2 separate regions of the Homo sapiens genome follow, and region 1 is linked to region 2. The links are contacts of gene promoters, found by promoter capture Hi-C in blood cells and fetal thymus (Javierre and others, 2016). All regions are on one chromosome and are shown on one strand. The core of a region is centred on a gene start or on the middle of the fragment in contact, and the rest is flanking DNA. Distances in the headings are between cores, read along the strand shown.

Evidence for each region. The method cuts DNA at HindIII sites, captures the fragments that hold promoters and counts their contacts. A CHiCAGO score of 5 or more calls a contact.
Region 1: a fragment that was not itself captured here is called in contact with the fragment with the promoter of DYDC1 in region 2 in 1 of 17 cell types (non-activated CD4 T cells); the score reaches 5.3 in non-activated CD4 T cells.

The regions. Positions count from the first base shown.
Region 1 is chr10:80,633,073-80,635,962 of GRCh38, forward strand. SH2D4B (SH2 domain containing 4B) reads left to right here. Exons shown (of 8, transcript NM_001388272.1): 7 at 1,213-1,433. The region is part of intron 1 of LOC105378387 (a long non-coding RNA gene); the gene reads right to left. Among named protein-coding and RNA genes, the nearest start is that of LINC02655, 15 kb to the right of the region's middle. The HindIII fragment of the contact is 1,207 bases long and covers 661-1,867 here.
Region 2 is chr10:80,354,999-80,358,146 of GRCh38, forward strand. It overlaps DYDC1 (DPY30 domain containing 1), which reads right to left and starts at 1,757. Exons shown (of 7, transcript NM_001269053.2): 1 at 1,714-1,757. It overlaps DYDC2 (DPY30 domain containing 2), which reads left to right and starts at 1,783. Exons shown (of 5, transcript NM_032372.6): 1 at 1,783-1,827; 2 at 2,895-3,047. The HindIII fragment of the contact is 3,945 bases long and covers 84-3,148 here.

The DNA.
Region 1 (2,890 bases), core at 14-2,513, 280 kb after region 2:
GAGTGTGCCCTGGGAGGCAGGAGAGTGATGGGAGGGGAGCCTGACTGCGGCTCGCTCGGGAGTGGCTTCGGGGATTGGGGAGAAGTCACAGGTGTGCTGAGCCTCTCAGGGTCATGGAGATGGGCAGCCCAGCCACTCTGTCCCCATGCCTGTCACTGATAGTGTGGAAAGGGTAAGTCCATGGGTGAGCAAAGGGACAATGTGTTGCAATTCACCTCTCCTCCAGAATAACAGATGCTAACAGGATCCAGCATCTCCACAGCTATTCTCTATGTATGAAATGAGTTTGAATACTTTATTCAACTTGAAAGTCATAACATACCTTCTAAGTATTTGGGTTATGATCATCTAAATGTCAAAGGACACTGGAGACCTTGAGGGCTTGGCTGGAAATTCCATAGCCAGGTTGGCAGAGGTCGGGGGTGGGGGTAATCCAGGTCTTCTGGCTTCCCCTCCTCTTCCCACCTACTTGCCTCTGGAACCTGTTCTACATCACGCCTCCTATATCACCCAGATGACAGCGGCTTCCTGAGAGCATTTCAGGGGATTGCTACCAGCATATCAACGACTCCAAGGCCAACCAGAATTCCAAATTGTGATGAAACTGCATTGTGTAGGAGTGCAAGTCCTTAGAAAGTTTTGATCTCTGAGCTGAAGTGAAGCTTGATTCTATGCCCCTATTAAGAAACTTTTTGCCTGGTGTCCACAGGTATTTGGAAGAAGTCTTTTTACTTTTTAAGGGAAACCCCTATTTTTAGGTGCTTATTTATGGTACTAGAGAAATAAGTGAGTTAGTCATCAGCAGCCATTCTGGACTAGTCTTTAAAGCAGGCCTCTTAAGGCTTTTCACAAGCCTGTTGACTTATATTTATAATCAATAATGCTATAATCACAGCTCACTACTAATTCCTTGCTTACCCAATTAATCCAAATCACCCTGGCTCAATGTGGAGGAAAGCATGCTCAACTCACGTCCTAGTAGAAACTCTGCCCCCAGGCTCACGGCGGGTGGCGCTGGGCCAAGATGCCCTCTCTGTGGAAGGAGGCATGTGCTTGGCCAGCCCTTGGGGCTCTTTCCTTCCTGCCACCCTGGACTGTGTGGATGGCATGTGCACTGAGCCACAGGGTGAGGGGCAGGGAGGAGTGGAGAATCGTGGGGGAGGCAGTCGCAGAACCTGCTGTGTTTTTTTGTTTTTTTCTATTTTAAATCAGGAATTATTAGCCGAGAAGATGCAGAAGCTCTCCTGGAGAACATGACTGAGGGAGCATTCCTGGTCCGGGTCAGTGAGAAAATCTGGGGTTACACCCTCTCCTACCGCCTGCAGAAAGGGTTCAAACACTTTCTTGTGGATGCTTCTGGGGATTTTTACAGCTTCCTGGGAGTGGACCCCAATCGCCATGCAACGCTCACGGATCTCGTTGATTTCCATAAGGTATCCCTCACAGGGATACTAATGGGGGGGAGGGGGAACTGGTGGAAATTGGAGCTGAAGAGAGAGCTAGAGCAAGAGAAGCAAGGCTGCTGGCTCTGGGCAGTGGGGCTGGAGGGTCTCAGAGATGTAGAGCATCAGGGCAGAAGAGACCAGAGGTTGTCCACACGGGGCCCGAGGGCCCACTGTTCTGCTCTCTGCTTCACTCTCTGGGGCATGCGGGCACCTCTCACCCTGGTCCTCAGGCCTCTTCTCACCTTGGGTACCTGAGTGCTCCCTCCTGTTAACACAAGGACTGGATGATCATCCCTTTCTCCAAGCCTGGGTCTCATCTCCAACTCATTCCCAAGAACGTCTCTCATGAGGACCTCCAAGCCAGACCTCTAGCAGCTTCTGAGAGTTAGCTGAAGTGCAGTAGGCAACCCTGTGATTAGAGAAGCTTTTCTAGTGGTGGAGTTACCATGTCTCTTATTTGAACTCCAGCTTAACCACTTAGTACATGTGTGACCTTGAGCCAGCACCTTAGTCTCACCAAACGTCAGCGTCCTAGCCAGGCAAATGGATGTGAATAATACTTAGCTCGGACCCTGTGAGCATTAAATGAAGTCAAGTACAGAGCAGCGCTTTGTGACTGTGAAGTGCTTATGGAAAGTCTTGTTTCTCAGCATTCTTTTTGTTATTTGTCCTCCTGCCATGGACCCTATATTGGAAAAGATGTTGTCTTCCAAGCAGTGTATGTAGTAAGAAGCAACGTTTATGTTCGTGTGGCCGTTGGCATCATTAGTAACTGGGAGAAAGCCAGAGGTGGAACTCAGTGACCTGGAAGGGCAGGACGAAGGATTCCGAGGGGCAGAGTGGTGGTAGCTCCGGCGTCCGACATCTAACCAAGCTTTGTGGGTGTAGATGGTTTCACAGAATGACTTGACGGTCTCACTGGGGTTTTGGTATAATAGGGACTCTTAGGTTTGTATTGCTTTCTCTTTGTCTCTTCATGGAAGTCCCTAGAAATTCAGGGACAGCCCTTGACCTTATGAATAATACACATGGAGAATCACCTATTCACAGATACTCGGGCACTGAGTGTGGAGTACTGCCTGGAAACTGGACTAACCAGGATCAAGGTTGATTTCTACGTGTTGGAAAGAGCCTTCTAACAGAGGAAAGCGAAAGGGAGGGGATGTGAGGACATTGACACATTCTCTGTGTCAAGCACTGAACCTATTGCTCTACATCCATGCTCTTATTTAATCTTACCAATAGATCTGTGAGGGAGGCATCTTTTTATTTATTTATTTTGTTCATTTTTTAAATTATACTTTAGGTTCTAGGGTACATGTGCACAACCTGCAGGTTTGTTACACAGGTATACATGTGCCATGTTAGTTTGCTGCACCCATTAACTCGTCATTTACGTTAGGTATTTCTCCTAATGCTATCACTCCCCCTTCCCCCAACCGCAC
Region 2 (3,148 bases), core at 507-3,006:
GTACTATGAGACCAGACAAGAGGAGTAGCTGATCAAGTCAGGAAAGTAAAAAAAAAGCTTCTTTGGGGGTGACATTTGAGCTAAGCTTACATTTACTGAAAAAAAAAAACAGTAAAATTAACACGACAAAGAAGAGAAGAGTCTTCTAGGTATGAGGAAAGGCCCTGATATAGGAATGAGCATGGCAATTACAGGGGATAGAATGCCACTGTGTCTAAACTTGTCCCTGGACAAATGCATCTAGCATTTTGCATAAAATTTCAGAGACAGTGACATCCTGGGGTCCGTCCATAACCCCCAATTTTTATTCTATGGATGAACCCCAGGATGTCAGTGTCTCTGAAATTTTATGCCATAACTATGTGCATATGCCATATGACAGTGGTGGGAGGGCAAAATGGTATAACTCCTATGGAGGAGAATTTGACAACATCTAGAAAATCACATATGCATTCACCCTTTGACTCATCAATCTTGCTTCTTGGATCCTATCTCAAAGATATAGTTGCAAAAATATGAAATGGCATATGCACACAGTTATTTGCAGCATTATTTACAATAGTCACACTGAAGCACCATCTAAATGTTCATCAAATTGGGGATTAATAAGAGCAACACAATGGATTATTATGCAGATGTACAAGAGAATGAAGAAACTAGAGAGTGATCTCTAAGACACAGAATAAAGAAAACGAGGTGCTGAAATTGTATATGGTCTGTCATCTTTTGTATTAGCAACAGCAGTGGGGAAAGGAATGTGTATGTGTGTATATGTAAACATAGTCATAAAAACTCTAAAAACGGAAAACAAACTGGCACAAATGAACCTAATTCCAAATGAGGTTGATATTGGTGTCTCAACCATACAGAGAAAAGAATTATTACAACTGACTTTGGAACACAGTATCTTCACTGTATTTCTTCAGTAGGATATACCTGAAAGACCAAAACGCTACACAGACATCTCAAAGTCATTTGAAGTGAAGTTAAAAAAAAAAAAAAAAAAAGGTGCACAGACTCCTGTTGCTGCTCCAGAAGGATAAAATGTGGGAAGGGAGGAAGGGGACCATTATCCCTAAAGAGAAAACTTCTGGCCTACCAGCGGGGCCAGGTCAGGGGAGGCTCTGTCTCGGATTTCTGGGCATATCAGTGGGACCCAGGCAAGGCCTGCCAACTCCCTTAGCATGTTCCTGTCTGTGAAACGAGGATAATACCCATCTCTCCTGTGGTAAGCAATGTTATTTTTCACATACACCAATAGGCATCTTGGCTCAACATAAGAAAGCCCTTTCCCACAGAAACAGCTGCCTCCAGCGTGAAGAAGGTGCCACAGAGATGGAAGGAGATTCCTTACCCACACCTGGGAGACAGCTAGCCAGCCAGCCAGCCAACTGGGCGGGGGCACCCGGGCAGGGGTGCCAGATACAGTATTGTATCTGGCAACCTCCCGGGGCGCTCAGTGTGGTTTTCCCACCCGGGAGTCTGGAAGGGTCTCCCGCAGCCCGCAGGAGACGCAGCGCTCCCCGCTCAGGGGGAGCAGGAGGACAGCTGGCCGCTTTCGGGAGCCCCAGGCGCGAAGCGGCCTCTCTCCGCCTCAGGTGAGTCCTGCTCGACGCCCAAGGCCCAACGGTCAGAACCGCCTCTGCCCGCCGGACCCAGCGAAGCTAGGGGAACAAATCCCAAAAACAGTTCGGGCCTTTCCGGTGCGCTCACCCCTACACACGCGCCTGCTCGCCACCCAGGAGCGGCGTCCCGTTGCCAGGCAACGAGAGCTCGCGCCTCAGGAGCCAGTGTAGGCGCCGCAAAGCGGAAGGGGCGCGCGGATAGGTGAGCAGAGGGCACGCGGTGGGCAGCGAAGGGGGAACGCGCAGCAGAGAGGAGAGGGCGTGCAGGAGTAGGAGCAGGCGGCAGAGTAGAGGGGGCGCGGCAGAGTAGAGGGGGCGCGGCAGAGTGGAGGGGGCGTGCAGGAGTAGGAGCCCGCCGCAGAGTAGAGGGGGCGCGGCAGAGAGGAGGGGGCGTGCAGGCGCGGGGCGCCCGGCAGAGAGAAGGGGTCGTGCGGAAGGGGGCGCGCGCCAGGGGAGGGGGCCAGAGAGGAGGGGGCGTTCAGGAGTCGGGCCTGCGGCAGAGATGAGGCGGTGTGCAGGAGGGAGAGCGCGCACGAGGGGGCAACGGGCAGAGAGGAGAGGGAATGAAAGAAGGGGAGCGTGGCAGAGAGAAGCGGGCGCGCTCCAGGGGGCGGGGTCCAGGGAGGAGGGGGAGCGTAGGATCGGGGCGGGAGGCAGAGAGGAGCGGGCACGCGGGACGGGCGTGTGCTCGTGAGGGGTCGAGGAAAGGCGTATGTGGAGGCGCGCGGGGTGGGTGAGCCGAGGAGACTTGCTACACAGAAACCTGGAGGAGTAGGGGCACACAAAAGAGCAAGGGACCCTGACTGGCAGCCCGGCATGCTCTGGGAGAGACAAAGAGGTGGCGGGCTTTGAGGAGGAACCAGGAAGGGCAGCCAATCGGAAAAGGGTGGAAGACCTTCCAGAGTCCCTGGAAGACCGTCACTGCAAGCTGCTAATAGCTTGGCAGTTTCACAACTCTGCACCTTTGCTCTTGCTGGTGACCTCTGCTTGGTTCCTTTCAGAACCAATTCGGGTGCCCCACCACCGGGAAGCCGTCCAGTCTCCACCAGGCCCAAACCCTTGCAGTCTTCCCTGGCCTAGTCGTCTGTGCATGTGCTAGCCTTTCCTGTGCTCTCTTTCAGCTTATGGGCGGGGCAGTGCCAGGCAAGAGAGGCCTTAATAGATGTTAGTTGAGCTAGTAAATGCCAGATTGGGCGTGGAAAAATCAAAGGGAAGCATGAGGGCAGGTGGCAGAACTCTCTCAATGAATAAGTCAAGAAATATTTACAGAGCTCCCAGTGTGCCAAGCGTGGGCGGTATACAGTAAACAAAGACAACCCCTATTCTTATCACCTTGCCTACTGAGTGCAAGTCCAGGAACTGTGTAAGCAGACCCTCAGAGGAGCTCTGGGAAACACTGAAAAATAGCCTCTCCCCCCATTGGTGAGTGTACCCTAAGTTGGTCTGAGTGGGCTTTAAAAGGCATCCCCTTGGCCAGGCGCGGTGGCTCACCGCCTGTAATCCTAGCACTTTGGGAGGCGGAG